4 separate regions of the Homo sapiens genome follow, and all the other regions are linked to region 3. Evidence: promoter capture Hi-C in 16 types of primary human blood cells and fetal thymus (Javierre and others, 2016). All regions are on one chromosome and are shown on one strand. The core of a region is centred on a gene start or on the middle of the fragment in contact, and the rest is flanking DNA. Distances in the headings are between cores, read along the strand shown.

Region 1 (6,912 bases), core at 4,331-6,830, 2.8 Mb before region 3:
ATTTCCCAGCAGCAGAGACCAACACTGAGCACTTGATGTGGCACCATTCCTTGGGGTGATCAGCAAGCTACTTGTTGGCAGGTTCATTATATTGGACCTCTTCCATCATGTAAAGGACAGCAGTTTGTCTTCACTGGAATAGCCACTTGCTCCAGATATGGGTTTGCCTATCCTGCATGCAATGCTTCTGCGAAGACTACCATCCGTGGACTCACAGAATGCCTTATCCAGCATCATGTTACTCCACACAGCATTGCCTCTGACCAAGGCACTCACTTTACAGCTAAAGAAGTGCAGCAGTGGGCTCATGCTCATGGAATTCACTGGCCTTACCATGTTCCCCATCATCCTGAAGCAGCTGGATTAATAAAATGGTGGAATGGCCTTTTAAAGTCACAATTACAATGTCAGCTAGGTGACAATACTTTGAAGGGCTGGGGAAAAGTTCTCCAGCAGGATGTGTATACCCTGAATCCGCATCCAATGTATGACACTATTTCTCCTGTGGATTTCTCCTTGAGGATTCATGGATCCAGGAATTAAGGGGTGGAAGTGGAAGTAGCACCACTCACCATCACCTCCACTCATCATCATCCCTAGTGACCTACTAGCAAAATTTTTGCTTCCTGTTCCTGCAACGTTATGTCTTGCTGGCCTGGAGGTGTTAGTTCCAGAAAGAGGAATGCTGCCACCAGGAGACACAACAATGATTCCATTAAGCTGGAAGTTAAGATTGCCACCTGGCCACTTTAGGCTCCACCTACCTCTAAGTCAACAGGTTAAGAAGGGAGTTACAGTGTTGGCTGGGTTGATTGAGCCATACTACCAAGATGACATCAGTCTACTACTCAACAATGAAGGTAAAGAAGAATATGAATGGAATACAGGAGATCCATTAGGGTGTCTCTTAGTATTACCATGCCCTATGATTAAGGTCAATGGGAAACTACAACAACCCAATTCAGGCAGGAATACAAATAGCCCAGACCCTTCATGAATGAAGGTTTGGGTCACTCTACCAGGTAAAAAACCATGACCTGTTGAGGTGCTTGCTGAGGGCAAGGGGAATACAGAATGAATAGTAGAAGAAGGTAGTCGTCAAGACCAGCTACGACCACATGACCAGTTGCAGCAACGAGGACTGTAATTGTCATTAGTCTTTCCTCCTTCTTTTGTTAAGAACATGTTTGTGCATGTGTACACTTGTACTAAGAAAATATCTTCGTTTTATTTCCTTTATTTTTCCTTTGTCATGTGACATAAGATTTATTGACTTCATATTAGCATTTAAGTGTTGTTAACTTTACGAAATAGCATTTAGGTTAAGGATTAGTACACTTCCGGTTGTATGAAGGATGGCTGTATTCTATTAGGCATAATTATGACCTTATTATTATCTTTATTTGAAGATTATGTATGATTTCAGGAGATGTGTATGGGTTCAAGGTTGACAAGGGGTGAACTTGTGATGGTTAATATTGTCAACTTGATTGAACTGAAGGATGCAAAGTATTGTTCCCGGGTGTGTCTGGGAGGGTGTTGTCAAAGGAGATTAACATTTGAGTCAGTGGGCTGGGAGAGGCAAACCCACCCTCAATTCGGGTGGGCACCATCTAATCAGCTGCCAGCACGGCTAGAATAAGGCAGGCAGGAGAAGACGGAAGGACTAGACTTGCTGAGTCTTCTGGTCTTCATCTTTCTCCCATGCTGCATGCTTCCTGCCCTCAAACATCAGACTCCAAGTTCTTCAGCTTTTGGACTCTTGGACTTACACCAGTGATTTGCCAGGGGCTCTTGGACCTTTGGCCACAGACTGAAGGCTGCACTGTCGCCTTCCCTACTTTTGAGGCTTTGGGACTCGGACTGGCTTCCTTGCTTCTCATCTTGCAGATGGCCTATTGTGAGACTTCACCTTGCAATCGTGTGAGTCAATACTCCATAATAAACAACCTTTCATATATACATCTATCCTATTAGTTCGGTCCCTCTAGAGAACCCTGACTAACACATTATTTTTCATCTTTCTGGGCCTCGCCAATCAATTTAGGGAATGAAAAGAAGGAATTCATTCTACTTTGTTCCCGTTTGTCATCTTCACAGCTGAGAAGCAGGCTTTCTACATCTTCACCAGGAGGCCAGTTTGTGGATACTCTGTCTTTTACTGGTAAAGATGCTCCTTGTTGCTGGATTCTAGATCCAGAAGGCATCAAGGCATGCAAAGTCTTCGAAATTAGGGCCAACAAGGAAAACTTTCTGTGATTGTGGGAGCCGAGAGTTCCCATCATCAGACTGCCTTCTGTGAAGAACTGGTGATTTCTTCTAGAAAATCAATCCCATTGACTCCTGTCCTTGTTCATGACTTAATCCAGAACAGTGCCTGTGGATGCTCAGTAAATATTTGTGAGATGAAAGGGGGAGATTTCTCTTTTAATCTTATTTATTTACAGATGGGATCTCACTGCTGCCCAGGCTGGAGTGCAGTGGTGCAATCATAGCTCACTGCAGCCTCAAACTCCTGAGTTCAAGCAATTCTTCCACCTCAGCCTCCTGAGTAGCTAGAACTACAAGTGTGCACCACTACATCCAGCTAACTTTTATTATTTTTTATTTTTGTAGAGATGGGGGGTTCTCACCATGTTGCCCAGGCTGGTCACACTCCTGGCCTCAAGTTATCCTCCTGCCTTGGCCACCCAAAGCTCTTGCTTGAGCCACCATGCCTAGCCAGGAGATTTCATCAGAGATTCTTGTCTGTTGTATTTTTTTTTTTCTTAGAGACAGGGTCTTGCTATGTTGCCCAGGTGGGGCTTGAACTCCTGGCCTCAGGCAATCCTCCAGCCTCAACCTCACAAGTAGCTGGAATTACAGGTGTGTGGGACTGCACCCAACTTGTCTGTTTTTGGATGGTCTCCAGAATCATCTCCTACTGGGGCTCTGGATCAACTGTTTCATTGTGCTGTTTGTCATGGAATCCTAAAACTTCCCCTGAAAGAATGTCTCTCTCTTACATCAAGAGGATGCCAAAAAAGGAGAATTTAGGTTGCAGATGGAATTAAGGCTGTTAATCAACTGGCCTTAAAATAAGGTTCTTATTCTAGAGCATCCAGTTGGACCCAACATAATCATGTGTCCTTAAAAGTGGAAGACTGAGACAGAAGAGGAGGTCAGAGTGATGCAATGTGGGAAGGACTCAAACTACTCTTGCAGGTTTTGAAGATGGAGGAAGGGCAGGCCGGGCACGGTAGCTCACACCTGTAATCCCAGCAGAGGCCGAAGCGGGCGGATCACTTGAGGTCAAGAGTTTGAGGCCAGCCTGGCCAACATGGTGAAATCCTGTCTCTATTAAAAATACAAAAATTAGCTCGGCGTGGTGGCACATGCCTGTAATCCCAGCTATTTGGAAGGCTGAGGCAGGAGAATCGCAGAACCTGGGAGGTGGAGGCTGCAGTGAGCCCAGATCTCACCACTGCACTCCAGTGTGGGTGACAGAGCAAGATTCCATCTCAAAAAAAAAAGAAAAGACCCAGGAAAATTAACTGAAAGCAAATAAAACGTATCAAGGATGCTTATAAAATTAGGAAAATACACTAAAATGCTATTGTGATTCTGCTAAGTATGTACATGTATTAGCATTATGGGAAAGTTTTTTCCTAGCCTTCTTTTTTTTTTTTTTTTTTTTTGGAGACAGGGTCTTGCTCTGTCACTCAGGCTGGAGTGCAGTGACATGATCACAGCTCACTGTAGTCTCAACCTCCTGGGCTTAAGTAATCTTACTGCCTCAGCCTTCTGAATAGCTGGAACTACAGGCATATGCCACTAAGCCTGGTTAATTTCTTTTTTTTTTAATAGACTAGGTCTCTATGTTGCCCAGGCTGATCTTGAACTCCTAGGCTCAAGTGATCCTCCCGCCTCAGCCTCTCAAAGTGTTGAGGTTACAGTCGTGAGCCACCACAACTGGCCTGGGCATTTTATTTTATTTTATTTTATTTTTGAGATGGAGTCTCACTCTGCCGCCCAGGCTGGAGTGCAGTGGCATGATCTCATCTCACCGCAACCTCCACCTCCCAGGTTCAAGCAATTCTCCTGCGTCAGCCTCCTAAGTAGCTGGGATTACAGGAATGCGCCACCACGCCCGGCTAATTTGTTGGTATTTTTAGTAGAGACGGGATTTCACCATATTGGCCAGCCTGGTCTTGAACTCCTGACCTTGTGATCCTCCCACCTTGGCCTCCCAAAGTGCTGGGGTTACAGGCTTGAGCCATCGCCTCCGGCCTGGTGTTTGCTTTTCTAATCTCACTTAATCCAAAGAGAGATTGCACAGCATTTAGACCTAGTCTTTGTCAATATTTTAAGCACACATTATTGTCCAATACATTAAATATCTTAGGGATTGATATTTAAAAGACATTATTTTCTAAATATGAAAGTGTATTATTAAATGAAGTGTGGTTATACAAATCAGGCATTCCGTCTGCTTTTTCCATTTGAGTATCATTGATCTGGAGACAGGAAAGAACTGGATATTTTTCAAGCAGTTCTCCTGAAATGTTATTACAACCGAGCTGTTGGGGCCGACGAGGATTTCAGAGAACTGCAAGTCTACAACCAGGTAAGGGCAACTCCAGAGCTTTAAACAGCCGGCCAGGCCCGGAAGCCTTCCAGGCTGAGGACTCTCAGCAGCAGGACTGGCCGCGTCGAGGAAAAACAAGAGGGGAAGAGATGGCCTCTGGGGGATGGAAGCCCCAAAGGGAAGAAAGACCTGGTTTCTGGCAAAGAAACCACATTGGCCAGGAGCTGTGGCTCACGCCTGTAATCCCAACACTTTGGGAGGCCAAGGTGGGAGGATTGCTTGAGCCCAGGAGTTTGAGACTAGCCTGTAAGACCACTTCCCCCAACTCTAAAAAGAAAAAATAAAAATTAGCCGGGTATTTGGGTCAACTTGTGATAGTTTACTTTGACTAGTGTGGTCTTAGTTGTAATTATTTCGGAGGCTTGGTGATACACGCCTGAGGCGAGAGGATCGCTTAAGCCCAGGAGGCTGCAAGTGAGCTGTGATAGCGCCACCGAACTCCAACCTGGGTGACAGGGCGAGACTCTGTTTCAAAAAAAAAAAAAAAAAGGGAAAACCAGATCAGCACTTGGGGTGCCCCTTCCCCTCAGCTTTAGCAAGATCCTGTGTTTTGATGCGGTAGGCAGGTGCGTGGTTCAGTCATGCCCAATGCTCAGACCACTCCTCACTTTTCACATCCAGGAGGAGGAGCTGTCAGGTTTGACCGCACTCAAGCAGCAAATGTAGTCCAGGGGACGGCTAGAGGTGAGGTCAGCCGCAAGACTGGCGTCACTGCGTGGGCCCAGCAAAAACCTGAGTCAGGAGGCGGCCAGGCAAGGTCAGTGGAGGGGGCGGGGCCCGAAGCGGAGGCGGAGCTTGGGAAAGCCTGGCGTGAGGGCGGGGCGGGGCCAGAGGTGGGCTGAGGCCGGATCAGGCGGTGGGGGCGGTCCCCGTAGCCCCGTGAGGCTCGCGCCTGCGCACGGGCCCGCGGCGGGGCGGGACTGCGCGTGCGCGGTGCGCCGGCCCTGGAGGGCGGAGTCCGGGCGGGCGCCGGCCGAGGGAGGGGGCGCGGCGGCTTTGGAGTCCGGCGCTCCCTCAGGCCGCGGACGCGATGCTGGTTGCTGCGGCTCGGGCGGCGGGGCTGGCGGGGATGTGACGGGCGGCCCTTCGTCTCACCTTCCGTCCTCGGGCCCGCAGGTCGCAGGGCGGCCTGCAGCTGGGCCGCGGCCGAGGAGGCAGCGCGACCTCCGCACGGTGAGATCCGGGCTCAGGGCCAGAGCCGGGGCCGGGGTCGCGGCGGGCGCCGGGGGCAGCCCAAGACCAGGCACGCAGTCCGGGGCGGGGCGGAGGCCCGAACTCCCGGGCTGAGGCGGTGTCGCCCTCCCGTACCCGGCCTCCAGGGTGAGCCTCTCTAGCCCCTCGCGAGCCGCCGGACGCGGGGCGGGCGCGGACCCGGGAGGCCGGAGGGCGCCCTCCCTGCGGCTGTGACAGCGCGGGGCCTCGGGCCGCGGGCGCCGCCGCCTTTCAGGAGAAATCAGGGCGAGGCTGAGGCACTCTGATTTCGGAGCCTGGTTGCGTGTGAGGGTGGATAGGGAAAGTACCGGGGCTCCCCGAATGAGTTCGATTTTTTTTTTCTTTCAATTACTGGGCTAAATGAAAGACACACCCTAAAACACATCCTGAGGTGAAACTTTGGTGGGGCACACCGTTGCCGTAGGTTCAGATCTTCTCTCTTGTCTTTAGACATGTATTTTCATACATTTTTAAATAATGCACCTACTTTCTTGATAAAGTAAAAGGAGGAATGAAGGGACTCCTTTGTGGTGGTCCTTGGTGGCGAAGCTTGTTTCCATTTCAGTAATTGCATATTCATCTGTGTGGGCTCCCCGACCAATGAGGCTGGCTGCTCCCAGACAAGGCCTTAGCGGAGTGGAAATGACTGACGCAGGGACTCTGGTCTCAGATTAGAGTGTTGGTAGCTCACTCCTGTAAGAGAGAAATTGAGCTTTAAGCTTTTTAAAATAGCCATATGAAAAGCATTCCTTTTCTCCTGAGCATTAAAATATGACGGAACCTATTCATTTGGCCAGTTGTTTTTTTTAAAGCATCATCTTTTAGACTAGAGACTTTAGAGATGGCAGCTGCTCTTTAACCAAAAGGAACTTAAGATGCTCTCCTGCAAAAGATGGGTTCAAAACATGTCTTATCCGTCATCCATATGTGATAAAAATGTAAATATTCCTGAGTGTTTGCCTGAAATCAGTCTTCTTCCTCTTGGACTTTATTACTGTTTCTCTTAATTTATGAAAGCTTGTTACTGTTATTTTTTGTTTTCGTTTGTGTTCTAAACAACATTGGCTTCAAAT
Region 2 (6,151 bases), core at 148-2,647, 2.6 Mb after region 3:
CATCTTGGGATTTTGACTGGGATTGCATTAAATCTGTGGATCAGTTTGGAGAGAATTGACATCTTGACAATATTGAGTCTTAATCCATGAACACAGTATTCTTCATTTTATTTAGGTCTTTAATGTCTTAGCAGTATTTTATACTTGTCAATGTAGAGGCCTTTCGTGTCTTTTGTCAAATATATTTATAAACATTTTATGTTATTTGATGCTATTGTAAATATTTTTAGTTGCTTTATTTAGGCATAATGAAACACTGCATATATTTTAGATACGCAGTTTGATAAGTTTTGACATGTGCATACACTTATGTAACTGTCACTACAGTCAAGATAGTGAGTATAACCATTACCCTCAAAAGTTTCCTTGAGGCTCCTTGTAAGTGCTCCCTCCCATCACACCTCCAAGTAACCTCTGATTAGCATTTTGTTAGTATACATTAATTTTTTGTAGATTTGTTGGATTTTGTATGCGTATGTTCATGTTGTTTCTAAATAAAGAAAATTTTATTTCTTCCTTCCCAATTTGGATGACTTTTGTCTTTTCATTTCCTTTTTTTCTTTCCATTTTTTTTTTCCTTTTCTTTCCCCTCCTCTCCCCTCCACTTCTTTCTTTCCCTTCTTCCCTTCCCTTTTACCTTTCTTTTTCCTTTCCTTTTCTCTTCCCTTTTTCTTTCCCTTACCCCTCCTTTTTTCTTCCCCCATCCCCTTTCCCCCTTCACACCCAATTACACCAGCTAGAACCTTTAATACAATGTTACTAGAAGTGGGGAAGCAGAAATCCTCTTCTTATTACTCATTTTGCTGCTCATCTTAGATTGAGTCTTTCCTGTTAAGTTTGTTGTTAGCGATAGATTTTTTGTAAGTGCCCTTTATCAGGATGAGGAAGTTTGCATTCATTACACTTTGCTGAGAATTTTTATTACAGATGGACGTTGGATTTTGTCAAATGCTGTTTTCCCATCTGTAGAGATAAAAGTTTCTCTTCATTTATTCTTTTAATATGGTTAATTGCCTGGATTGATTTTTGAATGCTAAACAGACTTTATATTCCTAGAATAAACCATTCTTGGTCAGATGTATTATCCTGTTTTATATATTGGCTAGTATTTTGTGTGGGAAATTTTGCGTATATCTTAATGTGGTATTTTGTTTTCTAATTTTTTCCTGAGGATATCTTTGTCAATTGTGTTATTCGGCTTATGTCAAACTCAAAATTAGTTAAGGTATTTTCTCTTCCTATATTTTCTTAAAGAGTTTATGTACAATTTGTATTTTTTTTTTTTTTGAGACGGAGTTCTGCTCTTGTTGCCCAGGCTGGAGTGCAATGGCGCCATCTTGGCTCACCGCAATCTCTGCCTCCCAGGTTCAAGCGATTCTCCTGCCTTAGCCTCCCAAGTAGCTGGGATTACAGGCATGCACCACCATGCCTGGCTAATTTTGTATTTTTAGTTGAGATGGGGTTTCTCCATGTTGGTCAGGCTGGTCTCGAACTCCCGACCTCAGGTGATCCACCCGCCTCGGCCTCCCAAAGTGTTGGGATTACAGGCATGAGCCACCGCTCCTGGCCTGATCATTTTCTTAAATGTTTGATAGAATTTACTGTTAAACTACTAGGGCCTGAATTTTTTTTTTTGTGGCATTATTTTGTTTGAAAATGGATTCAGTTTGCTTCATAGAAATTGGGTTATTCAGATTTTCTAGTTATGTCTGTTTTGATTAAGTTGCATTTATCAAGTTGTTTCCTTTTTACTTTTTTAAAAAAACATTAAAACATTTCTTTAAAATTACATTTTCTATGCACATTTCTTCCTCAGAAAAAGTAACAAGGAGAATGGTACATAGTAAAAAAATTCTGAATACCTCATGGAATTGAGCATTTGAATAATAGAATATTCTAGTTACTTTTGATTTATTCTAGAGTTATATTTTCCAATGACTTAGGGCCTCATTAATTATATTAGGCTTTTGTGGAATAAAGCCTTTTTATAAACTTCACGTATAAATACAGGAGATGGAGGAAATTGGATCTTTTTTGGTGTATTTTGTTTTTATTTAAATAGATTTATTGAGTTTTTCTAACATTATTAAAAGCAGGATAGTGACTGCTTAGAAATTCTTTATCATCTCAGATTATTATGTAAAAAGTAGCCATGTTAAGGAAAAATGGTCTCTGAAAAGCCGTATCTTTCAAAAACACAATGTTTTTCTCCTTTATTTTTTAAGGCAAACAGTTTCGAATCTAAAGATTATCTCCAGGTTTGTCTTCGAATAAGACCATTTACACAGTCAGAAAAAGAACTTGAGTCTGAGGTTTGTGTTGAATTTAATAGAATTTTAATATTTTACTTTCATTTAAAATGGCAAAATACTAGTTTTTATTTATTGGGGGTATGTTTTCTAGGGCTGTGTGCATATTCTGGATTCACAGACTGTTGTGCTGAAAGAGCCTCAATGCATCCTTGGTCGGTTAAGTGAAAAAAGCTCAGGGCAGATGGCACAGAAATTCAGTTTTTCCAAGGTAAAACTGAAGTGTTTTTGTTTTTTGTTTTAAAGATAAAGAGACTTGGCTTAGGCTAAATTGCTATATAATTGTATATAATGAACTATACATTTTATGCTTATGCAACTTAGATTTTAAGGATAAGACTCAAATCTCAGGTCTGGAAATATATAATTGGATGTAAAGAGATCACTGTAGTGTTATTAAAGTTATTATTACTATATTTTTATTAAAGTTATTATTAATATATTTTTAAGAAATATTCTTTTCAAAACTTAGGTGAATACTTGATTCCCTGGTACAGATTTCTATCTTGAAAACTTTCTGGTAGTAAAACTATCAAATGTATTTGTGGGAGTGGGGATGTGGCACCTATTTTAAGAATGAATCTTTTAAATTTTTAAACAGTAGTGTTGGGATGGAACACACTATTAATATTAACTTGAATTTTCTAAAAAGAGTTTTTAAAAAATGTTTGCTTAGGTTTTTGGCCCAGCAACTACACAGAAGGAATTCTTTCAGGGTTGCATTATGCAACCAGTAAAAGACCTCTTGAAAGGACAGAGTCGTCTGATTTTTACTTACGGGCTAACCAATTCAGGAAAAACATATACATTTCAAGGTAAATATTGTTTTATTTTGGTTGGAAAGGATAAGGAAGCAATAATAATCACTCAGTGTTTTTATAATACATACATGTAGTTATGTTGCTATTACCTAGTATGCGTTTGCTCTATTTTTAATAGTACTAGCATATTATTACGTATTGCTGTTTTTTTTTTTTTTTGGCGGGGGAGGGACAGAGTCTCACTCTGTTGCCCAGGCTGGAGTGCAGTGGTGTGATCTCAGCTCACTACAACCTCTGCCTCCTGGGTTCAGATGACTCTCCTGCCTGAGCTGCTCAGCTTCCCAAGTAGCTGGGACTACAGGCGTGCGCCACCATGCCAAGCTAGTTTTTATATTTTTGTAGAAATGGGGGTTCACCATTTTGGCCAGGCTAGTCTCGAACTCCTGACCTCAGGTGATATGCCCACCTTGGCCTTCCAAAGTGCTTGGATTACAGGCAAGAGCCACCATGCCTGGCCTTGCTATTGGCTTTTAATTCAAATTTATTTAATTCATTTGTAAAAATACTTTACCCATTGATAGAGATTTAGATGATGATTAAAATCCAGAAAAAGTATTGATGTGATACAGAGAATTAAGCATAAATGACCAGAAGAAATTTTATATTTCATTTTACTTTTATAGTTTGTGATTATGGGTGGTTACAAATCTTAATATGGTTGCATTATCTGAATGTAAAGTTTCATGTTTACATCAGAATAATAGTCAATAAAATGTTGGTAATACTGTGAATAACAAAGTGATGGAAAACTGAGTAATCCTTAGCTATCATTTCCGTTTCAGTTGTTGACTCTTGCCTATTGGTAGTATAAAAGGAGCTTTAATAAACAAGTAAAGTTTCCTCTTTCCTAGTAGACTGAGAGAGTATAACACAAAAATTCCTTTTGCAGGGACAGAAGAAAATATTGGCATTCTGCCTCGAACTTTGAATGTATTATTTGATAGTCTTCAAGAAAGACTGTATACAAAGATGAACCTTAAACCACATAGATCCAGAGAATACTTAAGGTTATCATCAGAACAAGAGAAAGAAGAAATTGCTAGCAAAAGTGCATTGCTTCGGCAAATTAAAGAGGTATGGAAATATTTTAGTATGTAAAATATGTATAATTCCTGACTTCTTATAAACCCTTTAGATTGTTTCACCATATATTGGAATCTGGTTTGTGGTGGTAGTGTTTTTTGTTATTATTTATGTTTTCGAGAAAAATAAAGCTTAAAGTGTGAAGACATCTTTTGTATTTATATTATACCAACAGCAAGAATGTTTAAACAATACAAATGTAAATGGTTCTGAAATCTTTTTTGATTGTTGTAGAGCCAGCATTGTGCTTTTTATGTAATGATTTTTTAAAATTCTGTTTTTTAATTGTGAAAGTAATATGTACCCAAAATTTAAAATAGGGAATGTGAGAAGTAAAAAGTAAAAGTTTCCTTTAATTTCATTCCTAAAGAAAAAATTATTAATAGATTGGGAAGTATTGTTTTTGGACCTTTTCTCTCTCTATATAAAATCCATATACAGAGCTTTCTATCTGTATATACACAAACATGGTCATATATATGATGTGTATATCTTCATACCTTTGTTTTTATATGTATGATATAATTTTTTTTTTTAAACAAAAAAGAGATCTTACTATGCTTACCATTCTATGACTTGGTATTTCATTTAGCGTATCTTAAATCTCTTCCTACCTTAAATCATGTGCGTTTTATCTGTTATGTCTTTAACTTGTTTTTTTAAATTTTAAATCAGCTTTTAAAACTAAGTCTCCATTGATGGACATTTGTATTGTTTCTGTGTTTTACTATTTTGAACAGTGTTTCAGTAAAGAAACATTCCATTGCAAATATATTTGGTGCTAATTTTCCCAAACTCAGGCCAAGATTGGATATTTAATAATGTCTGGTTTGATAGGTGAAAAATGGCTCACTTGAGCCTACTTTATATTTTTTTAATTGTAAATTAGTTGATTAGTACATCTTAGAATTTTTTCCTGTGAATTGTCACATGTTCTTTGTCCATTTATCTAGTATTGTATGACTTTTCTTGTTTACTGATTTATTAAAATGTATTTAAAAAAATGAATACATTATTAATGTATTAGTGTATGGGTTGCAAATTTTCTGGCTTATTGTTTGCTTCTCCCCTGCCCCCATTGTGTTTTTCTTTTTTTTCTTCCTTTTTTTAGTTTTTAGAGACAGGATCTTGCTTTGTCATCCAGGCTGGAGTATAGCGGTATGATCATAGCTCACTGCTGTCTTGAACTCCTGGGCACAAGTGATTCTCCTGCCTCGACCTCCTCTGAATAGCTGGAACTACAGGGGCATGCCACCACTCCTGGCTGTTTTGATTTTTTTTGTAGAAATGGGGTCTTGGTATGTTGCCTAGGCTGGACTTGAACTCTTGGCCTCAAGAGATCCTCTTCCCTTGGCCTTCCAAAGTGTTGAGATTACATGTTTGAGCTGCCAAGCCTGGCCCATTGTGTTTTTCAGTATTCATCTATTCAGCAAATTTTATTAAGTCATCTGTTTTTTTTCCAGGCAATATTTTCAGTTTTGAGGACAAATGGTACTGCCCTCATGGAGACTGACAATAAATAAATATGTAATATACTGTGAGGAGGTATTGTTTTATATAAGGTGGTACCATATAAACTTTTAAAAATGAAGTTATACTTGTCTGTTTATTCCTCTTGTGCCTTCTGGATTTTGTAGTATATTTTCAGACATTATTCTATTCAAGGCTGTTAAAAACTACTAATTGTTTTTGTAAATATTTTTACCCTATTATTATTAATGCAAATTTTTCTTTTTTAAAACATTTAGAAACCAGGGTTTTAAGGCAGTAAAAAGTGTGTTACCAGTGGAGTTCAAAGTTGAGTCTGTGACTATGGTCTCTGAAAGTAGAATAGTGTTTTAACAAAATTTATGGGGATTGGTGGATAACTCCATAGCCAATTCATAGAGGAAATTAAAATCATTAATAATGAAAAAAATTTTTCACTGGGCATGGTGG
Region 3 (7,043 bases), core at 1,908-4,407:
ATCAGCCACCAAGTCTTATAACCATCTGTTTCCCTTAGAGATTATTGCTAGATTGTTGCTTTGCTTCAACCTCAAGAATTTTAATTTAGAAAACTCAGGGATAAGGTTGTTCTTGAGGGAAAATGAGATACAGAAAGCTGAAGGTTGGTAAAAGGGTGGAGAGAGGCAGATGAGGTTTTTTTTTTTGGCAAAGAACCAATGGGAGAGAAGACAGGTTAGTGGGGAGAGGTAAGAAGAACGTGTTAAAATATGTTTAAGAGGGAAAGACAGAATTTCATAGGGATTATCCAAAGCATTTAAAAAAATCTCAATCACCTAATATATTCTGTGTTTCTAAGACTAGAGTGGGACTACAAAGGTTAACAATTTCTTAGACGTTAAAAAAGCTTTAAGAAAGAAGACCTGTCTCTCTTACAATGCACATTCTCTGCAAACAAGGGTGATAAATGGGTAGATAGATCTGGGGATGTCTTGAACACAAAGCATGGAAGGCTATAGTACCCAAATTTTGCTGATCATCTGTTTAGTATACTGTTTATTAAGCAAACTAAAATATTTAAGGGCTTTCATAGCTATGTAATCTTCCCCAATCCAGAAAGCCTTTCAAATTCCTGAAGATAATAAATTTGTCACTTTGTAGAGGCCAATTTTCTTTGATGTTCTATCAATGCTTGCAACAGTTTACTAGTAACAATTCAGTTTCTCCCTGTTTATATGCTGGGGGTTAATAGCATGTTTTTTTGTAAATGGGATAAACGGAACAGAAAATTGTATCTTACACTCTAGTACAAGCAAGTGCTACAGTAACAGTGCTTTGGTATGGCTGACCCAATTTGTTGCTAGGTTCAATATTTTGGCATTAAAACTGCTGTGGCAACAAGAGAAAGAGGACTCACAAACTATGGTAAACGAGTTGCTTCAGTGAGTTTGCGGAGCTGCGACTTATAAAAACAGGAGAGAGCTGGGCATCTGAAGAATCGAAGAAAAAGGATTTCAGAGACCAAATCATCCTGCAGAAAACCACATACACTGATTTATCTGTACACCTTTTAAAGGACTGGCAAATGCTGCCAGCAAGATAGTAAAAAATAAACTTGATGTCCGTTTTAAGAAAACGATGCAACTCAATATTTGCTAAACATTGCCTGAACTTCCTCCAACATCCTTATTTGCCTTTCTTTGGAGTCTGAACTTGTTTTCCTGGTTTGGATAATAAGGGAGTGGTAGGAAGAAGGCAGGCAAATGTAGGAGACTGACGGTGTGTACATTTTATACAATTTTGAAGCTAGAAAGGAAATCAGAGGTCAAAGTGGTTCAAACATTGGTTTTGGCTGAGGCAACCAGAGCTAGGGGATAATTAAGCTCCAAAGTTAAGTCCTAGAAGTGGGCGGGGTCAATGCAAATTTAGTAAATCTTTAAAAACAACCTTTGTCCCCCCTGCTGGGAACACCAGCACCGCTCAAGTTTTTTCCGGTACAGAGAGGATTTCTAAAAATCCTCATAAGTCAGCGGGCATAACTGAAAGACCACAGAACCAGGTTTACTGAGACATGGGTCTAGCCCAACATCCTCTGTGCTTCTCAGCCAATCCACCTCCAACAAGACTCCTCGCCTCCCTGGGCTCTTTATTCCATATAATTTTTCTTTTTTACAGTAGACAAAAGTGGTTTGTCCTTTCCATTTTATGTTACTAAAGAGGTATGATGCAATGTATTGGGGGGAAAAAAGCTCTTATTTGCTCGAAGAAAGCAATCTGACTACAGAGGCCAAATCTACAGACATTAAATGATTTAAACCACAGGATAACCCAGTGACTACCAAACATTATCTGACCCCTTTCTTCACGTACTATATTTTTCCTGAAGCTCAAATTCAGGGCTAGCCAGGACCAGTACACACCCCCAGAGCTATTTCATTCCATTGGCTGGCTGGCCATCCGCAGCCTACAACCTGTAAATTTACTGTCAGGACGCCAGGTGTTTATTTGTCAGAGATATTACATTGCTTGTGATTTTTTTGTGTTTTTCCTTTTTTTTGGTATAAAACAGAACTTGTCAGAATGGGAAAATTACTTAATTGAAACGATTAACGCGTGATTAGTAAATTCCTTTGGTTAATAAAACTGTCTAGATTTCAAACTTAGAAGCCAAGTCATTTTCTATGTTCGGATATCATCTGTCACTATTGGAACAGGAGTGAACAAATACCAGAAAATAATTTGACAGCTTGCATTTAGGGGAGACTCACAAAAGCCCAAGAACACTGACGAGGCATTATCACACGGGCAGGTCATTCCCTTTCCTAGAAGTGCATTTCGGCAGGACCCGCCGTGTGTGACACAGACACCGGGACCAAAAGGAGACCGGTGCAGCGTCTACTCTGCATGCAAGATCAGCATATACAGAGGCCCGGGGTGACGGCGCGGGGGAGGGGGCAGGCCAATCGCATGATGATTTTAAGGCGGAAAAATCACCATCCACAGAGCCGGCCACATCCGAGGCGGGGTGACCCGGGCGGGGACCCGGCCCGCTCCAGCTGGGCTGGGCTGGGCTGAGCAGCGGCCCCGCACCGGCAGGAGGCCGGAGGGGAGGGCCGCAGGGGAGGCAGGGAGGGCGGGACGGGGCCCGGCCGACGCTCACCTCCCTTGCAGGGCGTGCGGTGCTGGCTGTGCTGGGCCCGGTAGCCTTCGATGACCTCCCAGGAGCCGTCGTCGCGCCGGATGGGGAAGGAGAGACTCAGCACATGGTTGCAGGGCTTGATGATCCGCAGGATGCCGCGCACCCGGTTCCGCTTCTGCTCCTCGCTCTCCCGGGTCCTCAGGTCCTCCACCAGCTTGTCCTCCACGATGCTGGCGCCGCGATCGAAGAAGCCCTCCACCATCTTGAAGAAGTTGGGGTCGTCCTCGCGGTCGGCCACCGCCTCGCTGTAGTGGCGCCGGGCGGCCAATGCCAGCCCCGGCTGCGGGGCGGCGGCGGGCTGTCCCCGGGCCCAGCCCAGCAACGCGGCCGAGTCGGCGGACGCCGAGCCCAGGGCAGCGGGCCCGGCCCGGGACAGCAACAGCGCTTCGCCCAGGTAGCGGTACATGGCCACAAGCGGAGGGGAGGTGCGTGATGGTCGCGAAACAGGCGCGCTTTCTCAGACTCCCCGCGACTAGGGAGGAAGGGTCCCGCGCGGGTTGCCCTTTTAAGCCGCAGCTTCCTGCTTGCCCGGCTGTCCCCTCCCCTCGGGCGCTCGCCACCTAACGGGGAGGACGGACTTCGGGGACAGGGCGCCGCCCAGGGCGCCGGGCCTCCGCCTCCGCCGCGGCCTCCCCGGGCCTCGCTGGCGGCAGCGCGCGCCGGCGGGGCGTCGGGGGCGCGCAGGCGCGGGCGGGCTCGGCGCGCACGCTCGCGCGCCAGTGGGGAAGGGAGGGGAGGGGAGAGGAAGGGCGGGGAGGAGAGTGGAGGGGAACGGACGGGAGGGGCAGGGAGGGGAAGGTCGGGGCGGGTCGGGGCGGGTCGGGGCGGGCCCACGGGCGGCCGGATTTGCCCGGAGGCCGCACCCGCCTCCGGCGGGGCTCTCAGGTATGTGCGCCGCGGGGGTCCCTCAGGGGGGTTGGGGGTAGCCCAGGGAGGTCGGGGTCGGGGGCTGGCCTCTGTAGGGCGCTCAGAGGCCGAGTCCCCCCGAGCGCCGCGTGGGTGAGGCTTGGCGGTCTGGTCGGGGACCGGGTCATGTGAGTCACGGGCGCCCCTCCTTTCCGCCCGCGCGCCCTCGGAACGGGCGGCCCACCCTGGCCTGTCCTCTGGCGGCCTCAGGCCGGGGCCGGGCGTGCAGGGGCTGACACGTGGGCAGGAAAGCGAGGCAGAGCCGCCGCCGCGTAAGGCCGGGCTGAGGGCTCGGCGTCACCAGCCAGGGCTGCAGAGAGCGGCGTGGCACCCGGAGTTGGATTATGCGTGGCTGGCGTGAGCTGGAAGGGAGTCACTCGCCCACAAGCTCTCACCACGCGAGCTTTTATTGTCCCGTTCAACTGCTCCGCAGTGTGGAGATCGCATAGTTACGCACGTCGTGGTTGTGTCGCCCCACAGTACTGACTGCTTCACCTTTGCAGACAGAGGCTCCGGCCCGGCGCGGTGGCTCACGCCTTTAGTCCTAGCACTTTGGGAGGTCGAGGCTGGAGGATGGCTTGAGCCCAGGAGTTCGAGGCTGCAGTGAGCTACGATAGCTCCACTGCACCCCAGCCTGGGCAACAGAGGGAGACCCTATCTCCCTCTGAAATAGTCTAAAATAAGGAAACTAGAAATGCGATAATGCCCCCAGGAAATTCTTTCTCAGGAATATATGTATTTGTTAAATGGTTCAGTATATGATTTATTTTTTATTTTATTTATTTATTTGAGATGGAATCTTGCTCTGTCGCCCAGGCGGGAGTGTAGTGGCACCATCTCGGCTCACTGCAGCTTCCACCTCCCTGGGTTCGTTCTAGCGATTCTCCTGCCTCAGCCTCGGGGTAGCTGGGATTACAGGCCCGCGCCACCACGCCCGGCTAATTTTTGCATTTTTAGTAGAGACGGGGTTTCGCTGTGCTGGCCAGGCTGGTCTCCAACGCCTGACCTCAAGTGATCCGCCCGCCTAGGCCTCCCAGAATGCTGGGATTACAGACGTGAGCCACCGCGCCTGGCCTCAGTATATGATTTATAAGCTTTATGCTGTATGAGGGTTCAGTTATGTATTTATACATACTTGATAGGAAATGCTAAAGTTCACATTCCTATGGATAGCTTTTGGTGCTTTTCAAACTAACGAGGCTGGCACGGTGGCTCACGCCTGTAATCCCAGCACTTTGGGGGCCAAAGCAGGCTGATCGCTTGAGGCCAGGAGTTCAAGACCAGCCTGGGCTCGTCTCTATAAAAAGAAAATAAAAAATAAAGCTCTAATGACAGTCATTAAAACTAGCTGCCAAACACCACATTACTAGCGTTAGCGGTCTCAGTGTACTTGGGTGGTTTTAAAATGACACCCATTGGACCTGCAAAACGATGGTGCTTCCCGATATGTTCATGTTATTCATCTTTTAGAATATGGAAGAGAAAGTTCTTAGTTCTCGAAATATTGTGTAAAATATAAGGTGACAACCTGGATCTGTTAAATGACATTCATCTAAGTGTACTCTCAAAGTCAAAATTATCTTTTCATACAGGTGGAACTTATATTTTACCTTACTTGCTAAATAAGTCATTGTCATTAATTGTATTTGCACTGTGTTTTTCAGTGAAAAATGTACTCTGACCTGAATCCTGAATTTTCCTTGATGGTCAAAAGATTAAGGTATCAAATTTCCTTTTTTCTGGATGTATTATCGTTTTACTCTCTTACATTGCAATCCCCCACTCCTGCAAAAAACCCACGGAGTTTCAGAATAAAATGATTAGCATCAGTAAACATGGAAATATTTTTCTTTTTGGATTAAATTATTTGTTTATGTTCTGAGGAAAAATCTTTAAAAGCTTAGTTTTATTGTTTTTGTTGTTCTTTATAACCTTAGCCTTCAGAAAAATAAATGTTTAACTTTGCTTCTTCTGTGACTTGTTCACCTGAATTCAAGAAGGTGGAATTGGGCCTAAGGAGGTGGCTCACGCCTGTAATCCCAGCACTTTAGGAGGCTAAAGTGGGCGGATCACTTGAGGTCAGGAGTTCGAGACCAGCCTGGGCAACACAGTGAAACCTTGTCTCTACTAAAAATACAAAAATAAGCCAAGCGTGGTGGGGGGCCTACAAAAATTAGCCAGGCGTGGTGGCGGGGAGGGGGTTGGGCAGTGCTTGTAGTTCCAGCTACTTGGGAGAACCACTTGAACCAGGGAGAGAGGTTGCAGTGAGCCGAGATCGTGCCATTGCACTCCAGCCTGGGCAACAGAGCGAGTCTTCATCTCAAAAAAGGAAAGGCAGAATTGAAGAAGCTTTGGAAGAGGTGAGGAATAGAGCTGTGGAAATTACTATTTTTTTTTTAATTGAGAATCTCCTGTGTGTAGGTGCCTTACAAACTGGCTTCATGAGTACCCTATAAAACAGATGTTTTTATTTTTAAAATCATCATGGTTTTGTTTTGTTTTGTTTTTTTGAGACAGTCTTGCTCTGTTGCCCATGCTGGAGTGCAGTGGTGCAATCTCAGCTCACTGCAGCCTCTGCCTCCCAGGTTCCAGTGATTCTCCTGCCTCAGCCTCCCGAGCAGCTGGGATTACAGGCGCCCGCCACCATGCCAGGCTAATTTTTTTGTATTTTTAATAGAGACGAAGTTCCACAGTGTTGGCCAGGCTGTTCTCAAACTCCTGGCCTCAAATGATCTGCCCGCCTTGGCCACCGAAAGTGCTGGGATTACAGGTGTTGAGCCACTGCACCTGGTCATTATGTTTTAAAATTACATACAAGTTGTTAAAAAAATATGAACAGCAGAAATAGATTTTAGAAAAACAGAATGAAATTATCCATCTCTTCCCCCATTTAGTGAATATTTGGAGTATTTCTTTTCACACTGTAGGTATTATAATTCCTGATTTATTAGAAGCAGGGAGTGGCTGGGCGTGGTGGCTCATACCTGTAATCCCAGCACTTTGGGAGGCTGAGGCGGGCGGATCACCTGAGGTTGGGAGTTCGAGACCAGCCTGACCAACATGGAGAAACCCCATCTGTACTAAAAATACAAAATTAGCCTGGTGTGATGGTGAATCCCTGTAATCCCAGCTACTCAGGAGGCTGAGGCAGGAGAATTGCTTGAACCTGGGAGGCGGAGGTTTCAGTGAGCTGAGATTGCGCCATTGCACTCCAGCCTGGGTAACAAGAATGAAACTCCATCTCAAAAAAAAAAAAAAAAACAGGGAGTGAGGCCCACAGAAACCAAACAAATTGTTGATGATCACCAAGCTTGTAAATAGGGTAAGATTCAAACCTGTGTATCTGACTCCAAAGTTATACTATTTATACTATTCCAAGGAGTATTTTAAGTATTTGTTCCATTTAGTTAGAAATTATTTACTGTGATATAAAGTCTAATGAATTTCAACTTTAGATTT
Region 4 (6,603 bases), core at 3,211-5,710, 2.3 Mb after region 3:
GGTCTCCATCTCCTGACCTTGTCATCCGCCCACCTTGGCCTCCCAAAGTGCTGGGACTACAGGCATGAGCCACCGCACCCAGCCAAGAATCATTATTTTTAACTTGATGACTGAAAATAATAATAATAATAGTTACCACTTATTTGCATGCTTCTATGTGCCAGGTAGTTGCTAACTATTTAAACTCAAATTCCATGAACTGTAGTGGAGGTTGTACTGGAATTTGATTCAGAATGACAGTGTCCATGATGGAGCAATAGAGGGCTCTCTATTTCAAACCATACCTCCTTGCTTTTACCTCCTGCCTAAGTCATCAGGGGTTAGAAGGCTTTCTAGGTATTGGTCTCTTTCCTTCATTCCTAAACCAGATTGGTTGCTTATTTCCGTCAAGCTGAAACCAAAAGTAAGCAACCAAAAAGCAACCAGCAACCAAAAGCCTTGTTACTCAATTAATTAAGAGTAGATTTTTATATTTGATAGTAGGTTCCTTCTAAATATAGAAACTGAAAATAGAGCTATCTCCTTCAATTCTCCTTTTTCTGTGTATTCATCCAGAATCCAGCCACCAACTGCCACAATAGGCAGCAATGGACTGATGTTCTTTAGGGAGGACGTGAATCTCGTTCCAAATGCTGGCCAGTCATTGGGTTTCTGCAGCACTAGAAACATCTATGGTTGCAGGTCTGCAGTTTATCTGTTTTAAAATAGAAACAAAGTTTCATTCCCCACCCCCCCCCGTCAGCAGGAATTCCGCTAGCTTTAGTTTCACTTTCCCCTTTCGGTTTCCCTAGGTTTCCAACTTGCAAGGACACACCCACAGCTTACACCATTGGCTGCTGTTTAGCTCCCTTATATAACACTGTCTTGGGGTTTAAACGTAACTGAAAATCCACAAGACAGAATAGCCAGATCTCAGAGGAGCCTGGCTAAGCAAAACCCTGCAGAACGGCTGCCTAATTTACAGCAACCATGAGGTAAGGATTTCTTTGCTCCTCTGCCATAATGTCTAAAGTTTTTGAAAAAATGGTAATTAAATACTATTTCAACAGGTTAGATCTCAGTGAGGTCAGGTTTTCTAATTCCTCGATTTGAGTATCTGCTTATGGACTGAATGTGTGCATGCATGTGTGTGCACGTTCACACATACATAAATTGTTTAATGCATTTTTATGTTTGTTAGCATGAACTTGAGGAAGCTTACCTCATGCTATAGCCCAAAGAAGGGGAGGGAAATGGGAAAAGAGTTTTGCAGGAAGGGAGAAAATGATCCCAATCTGAGAGATTCTTTCCCATCAGATTCACTTCTGTCTGATATGGGGAAGGAATGGACAGCTTGTCTGAGTAGAGGCATTGCTTTCTGCAGGTTCTTTACCACAGAGAAAAAGCAGGACCCACAAGAATGTGAAAGCCTCAGTCTTGCAGCCTCTCTGATGTCTTGTGGGTAATACAGTGGAGATGTGGTAGGAAAAGCTCACAGCCTTCCTCCATAGGCTTCTGGTCTCACTTTCTGCACTGCTGGCCTCTTACAACAGGTTTTCGCAATCAGGCTGAGCTTAAGATAAACAGATTGCCTCCTCCCTGGAAAATCTAGGCTCTTGGTACGTCCTTGACTGAAGATGATCCACATCTGCTTGGGAAGATCCGTATCTTCCTTACCTAAAGGGCCTAATGTGGGAATTTCTCAGCTGATTTAAAAACCATTACTTAGGCCGGGCAAGGGGGCTCATGCTTGTAATCCCAGCACTTTGGGAGGCCAAGGTGAGCAGATCGCCTGAGGTCAGGAGTTGGAGCCCATCCTGGCCAACATGGTGAAACCCCATCTCTACTAAAAATACAAAAATTTGGGCATGGTGGCACATGCCTGTAGTCCCAGCTACTTGGGAGGCTGAGGCAGGAGAATCACTTGAACCTGGGAGGCGTAAGTTGCAGTGAGCTGAGATTGTACCACTGCACTCCAGCCTGGGCAACAGAGCGAGACTCCGTCTCAAAAACAAACAAACAAACAAAAAATCCATTACTTAATACTGATTTGTAAATTTTCCCCTCAGTGCTCCAGTTGGCAAAATTTTGAAGAGGTAAAAATTCCAGAAAATGCACATTACAGGCCTATGATGAACCCTCCTCTGTAAACAGATGGAGTTGGTACTGATAATTAAAATAATAATAATATTAAATGTTATAAAGGTAGTTATCACTTCTTGAATTCGTATTAAGTGACAGCCTGGCTTCTAAAAGTGTTATGTAAATTATTCCATTTAATTCTCAAAAGATACTTATAAGGCAGGTACTTACACAGTCATGCATCGTGTAACAATGGGGATACACTCTGAGAAATGCAGCTGTTAGGCAATTTCATCATTATGCAAACATCAAACCTAGACGGTATAGCCTACTACACACCTAGGCTATAAACCTGTGCAGCATGTTACTGTACTGAATACTGTAGGCAACTGCAATACAATGGCAAGTATTTGTTTATCTAAACATATTTAAACATAGAGTACAGCAAAATTGTGGCATTAAAATCTTATAGGACCACCACCAAATATGTGGTCCTTTGTGGACTAAAATATCATTATGCAGTGCATGGCTGTATGATCCTGATTTTACAATAAGGAATCTTAGATTTAGAAATGTTAAGATCACACAGACAATAAGTGGTAGCTTTGAGATATGGATCAGGATCTCTACATTCAATGATATTTCATTAAACCTTTAAATCAATGTTTCCCAAAGGGTGTCAGTGGGGGCTCATGTGATTATTTCAGATGGCAAACTCATTTGCTTTTATGTTTTCCTGCTTTTATGTTTATGTCAATATGTACTACAGGAAAATATATATATATATATATATATATATATATATATATATATATATATATATAAAACTTGAATTTTATTCAGGTTAGCAATGTGATTTTTTATTGTGATAAAATACATGTAAAATAAAATTTATCATTTTAATTACTTTAAAGTATACAATTTAGTAGTATTTAGTATATTCATGATACTACTGTGCAATCATCATCACTATCTAGTTCAAGAACATTTTTCTCGCTATGTGGAGAAACTGCATAGCCATTAAGCAGTCACTCCCTACTTGCCTCTTTCCCCAGGCCCCAGCAACTGTTAATCTGCTTTCTGTCTCTATGGATTTGCCTATTGTGGGTATTTCATATAAATGGAAACACATACTATGTGGTTATATTGAATTTTTATAATTTTATATTTCCTAAGCATCCCTTTTTGAATATTAAGTTGGACTTTCTCATTCCAGAAGCAGGGCTCAGTCACCCTTGAGACAATTTCTAGTTCTCCACCTTTTTCCAGTTCCTCAATGTGATTGATCCAGATATCTGCTTTATATAACTACCTCCTGGTGACCACTTCCCTATAGCATAGCAGGGTATGACCTATTTGACTTGCCCCCACTGACCCCACCCCCACCCCACATGGACCAGGCAGATGTGCTGCAGTGACCACCTCTCAGTCACAGCATGACCCCTTGGCAAAATTGCACCTGCTTGCTCTAAACCCACCAAATAGAACTCTCCACAGGAAACCCACCTAGGTAACGCCCTGGCCTCCCATAAAGGCTTGGGCCCACATTCCCCACTCGCTGGTTGAGCAGGCATGTCCTCAATGGCTCCCCCTTTCCCATTGGCCCTGCAAGGCATATTACCCTCTTCTCTCTGGATCTGTAAGTAATAAGCTGCTTCTGTTATTTCACATACTATTTTTTTCAATTGCCTCCTTTGTATTTCACCTGACCAACACACTCAAACTCTTCTTTACTGGTCATGGCTTTCCGAGAGAGTGGCTGTCTCAGTAGAAATAAACTAAACACAGGTCAGGCAAGAACCACAAGGGCATCTGCCTGATATAAACAAGTTTCCTATAAAAGGGGACACCTAGACATAGATCAGACGCTTAGGCATTAGGCTGTTCATCAAAATAAAGAAGTATCCCAAGAAAGGCACATTGTAAATATCCATGACCAAATACCCTGAAGCTCTTTCAAGGCAGGGCTGTAGATTGTAGCCACTCTCACAGGAGAGACCTCAAGACAAAATTAGGAAAAAAAAAAATACAACAGTGACCTTTTGGATCAGTTTTTTTCATTTAGTGTAGTGTTGTCAAGGTTTATCCATGTTGTGTCATGTATCAGTACTTCATTCCTTTTTATGGCTACATAATATTCCACTTTATGGATATATTACATTTTTTTATCTATCAGTTGGTGAACATTTGGGTTGTTTCCATTTTTTGGCCATTATGAATAGTGCTGCTATCAACATCTGTGTGCAAGTTTTTATTTGAACACCTGTTTTTAAGTATCTTAAGTATATATCCAGATGTGGAACATCCAGGAATGTATACCCAGGAATGTGTCATATGGTAATATTATGTTTAACTTATTGAGGAACCACCACATTGTTTTCCACAGCAGCTGCATCATTTTACATTCCCACCAGCAATGTATGAGGGTTTCAATTTCTCCACATCCTTATTGCCTTAGTCCTTTTTGTGTTGCTATAGAAGAATAAGCAACAATTTCTAAGGCTGGGCAATTTCTAAAGAAAAAAGGTTTATTTAGCTCACAGTTCCGCAGCCCATACAAGAAGTATGGTGCTGGCATCTTCTCAGCTTCTGGTGAGGGCTTTGGTGCTGTGTCAAAACACACTGGAGAAGGTCAAAGGGGAAGCACATACAAAGAGGGTCTAAACCCAGGGGGCATCCTCACATTATAACAACCCATTCTCAAAGGATTAATCCATTCCCCCAAGAACCAATCCAGTCTCACAAGAATGAGAATTCACTCACTACTACTAGAATGGCACCAGGTCATTCACGAGAGACCTACCTCTATGATCCAAACACATCCCACTAGACCCTACCTCCAAAATTGTGACACTAGAGATCAAATTTCCGTAGATTTGGTGGGGACAATCAAACTGTATCCAAACCATAGCACTTGTCAATACTTGTTCACCTATTCTCCTTTTCTAAAATTATTATTGTAGCCAACTTACTGGGTGAGAAGTGATAGCTCATGGTTTTGGTTAGCATTTTTCTAGTAGCTAATGATGTTGAGCATCTTTTCATGTGTTTGCTAGTCCTTTGTGATTCTTCTTTGGAGAATTGTCTACTCAAGTCCTTTGCCCATTTTTAAATTGGGTTGCTTATCTTTTTGTTGATGAGCTGTAAATATACTTACATATATTTCTCCATACATGAGTAATCACATACATACAAATATATAAGGATTTGGTTCTTTATAAAATAGGGTCGTGTTTTGGACACTTCTTTACAATTCACTTTTCTTGATATATATGAAAGTCCATCAAACTCAAGTAGTTTTGATCTAATTCATGTAGTCTAGTGGCTACATAATATTCTATGGTATAGATATACCTTTATTTAACCGTTCCCTATTAATATTTCCAGTTTGTTGCTAATATATACAGTGTTGGTAATGAATATTCTTGAGTATACATCCTTATGTACTGGTTATTTTTTTCTGGGAGATAGATTCTGAGGAGTGGAATTACTTTGTTGAAGGAAATGTAATTTTAATGACCACCATTAATTTTAATTTTGATTTTAAAATTAAAATTTTAATTTTAATTACTATCAATTTTCATGGCTGTCATCAGATTGATCTTGAAGGCCATAATAATACATGGCTTCAGAAATTGTGTCCTCATCCATTTAAACTCTTGCCAATCTGAGTGGAATAAAGTTATAAATTATTGCTTCTTTAATTTGCATTTCTCTAATGGCTAGAGGCTTAGGGCATCTTTTTTCTTTTTATAGAGACAGGGTCTTACTATGTTGCCCAGACTGATCTTAAACTTCTGGCCTCAAGCAAATCTCCTGCCTTGGCCTCCCAAAGTGCTAAGATTATAGGCATGAGTCATTGTCTTGATCCAGAGCATTTTTTTTCATATTTATTGGCCATTTATATTGGCTTTTCTACAAATTATCTATTCACATAGATTTCCAGTGGTCTGTTGAACTATACCAATTTACAAAAACACTTTGTATATTACAGATGAGAGTCTTCTCTGTATTACAAACATTTTCCACGTTTTTGTTATTTTTCTATTTACTTTGTTTGGAGTACCTTTGCCATAAATAAATCACAAATTGTTTTATTATGGTAAAACATATATAACATAAAATCCACCATTTTAACCATTTTTAAGTGTACAGTTCTATGACATTAAATACATTCACTTTATTGTGCAACCATGACCACCATCCATCTCCAGAAATTTTTCATCTTCCTAAACTGAAATTCTGTACTCATTAAACAATCATTTCCTATTCCCTCCTCCCCCAGTGTGGAGGATCAGTCAGAGTGACGGGAAAAACTATAGGGAAAGAATGCAAGCCTTCTGAAAGGTCAGAAGGTTCTGCAGAGCCCTGGGGGAGAACAGCTGAAGGCAGCTGTTCTATAACTCTGAGGCAGAGGGCAAGGAGTAGGTACAAGGGAGTGTGGGGGAATGTATCTTAAACAGGCTTGTTTATTTATGTTGACCAGGAACTGACCTTTGATCATCCACATGCGTGATGTTCCCTGAAAGGGGAACAATAAAT

Evidence for each region. The method cuts DNA at HindIII sites, captures the fragments that hold promoters and counts their contacts. A CHiCAGO score of 5 or more calls a contact.
Region 1: the fragment with the promoter of CCSER2 here is called in contact with the fragment with the promoter of GLUD1 in region 3 in 4 of 17 cell types (activated CD4 T cells, naive CD8 T cells, total B cells and 1 more); the score reaches 13.2 in activated CD4 T cells.
Region 2: a fragment that was not itself captured here is called in contact with the fragment with the promoter of GLUD1 in region 3 in 1 of 17 cell types (fetal thymus); the score reaches 7.1 in fetal thymus.
Region 4: a fragment that was not itself captured here is called in contact with the fragment with the promoter of GLUD1 in region 3 in 1 of 17 cell types (non-activated CD4 T cells); the score reaches 5.5 in non-activated CD4 T cells.

What each region holds. Positions count from the first base shown.
Region 1 is chr10:84,323,009-84,329,920 of GRCh38, forward strand. CCSER2 (coiled-coil serine rich protein 2) reads left to right here and starts at 5,581. Exons shown (of 10, transcript NM_001284240.2): 1 at 5,581-5,800. RefSeq lists a silencer at 5,345-6,074 and an enhancer at 6,125-6,474. The HindIII fragment of the contact is 12,289 bases long and covers 1-6,386 here.
Region 2 is chr10:89,706,942-89,713,092 of GRCh38, forward strand. KIF20B (kinesin family member 20B) reads left to right here. Exons shown (of 33, transcript NM_001284259.2): 3 at 2,226-2,312; 4 at 2,404-2,520; 5 at 2,986-3,124; 6 at 4,020-4,204. Among named protein-coding and RNA genes, the nearest start is that of KIF20B, 8.4 kb to the left of the region's middle. The HindIII fragment of the contact is 5,889 bases long and covers 1-4,342 here.
Region 3 is chr10:87,091,686-87,098,728 of GRCh38, forward strand. It overlaps GLUD1 (glutamate dehydrogenase 1), which reads right to left and starts at 3,158. Exons shown (of 13, transcript NM_005271.5): 1 at 2,640-3,158. The coding sequence starts at 3,084. It overlaps SHLD2 (shieldin complex subunit 2), which reads left to right and starts at 3,521. Exons shown (of 10, transcript NM_001330112.2): 1 at 3,521-3,563; 2 at 5,249-5,304. RefSeq lists enhancers at 1,170-1,707, 4,112-4,171 and silencers at 2,392-2,731, 2,932-3,071, 3,192-3,891, 3,812-4,069. The HindIII fragment of the contact is 4,292 bases long and covers 385-4,676 here.
Region 4 is chr10:89,391,744-89,398,346 of GRCh38, forward strand. It overlaps IFIT1 (interferon induced protein with tetratricopeptide repeats 1), which reads left to right and starts at 880. Exons shown (of 2, transcript NM_001548.5): 1 at 880-974. The coding sequence starts at 970. It also overlaps a transcript of LIPA not described here. RefSeq lists enhancers at 429-478, 709-758, 1,560-1,609. The HindIII fragment of the contact is 6,532 bases long and covers 1,195-6,603 here.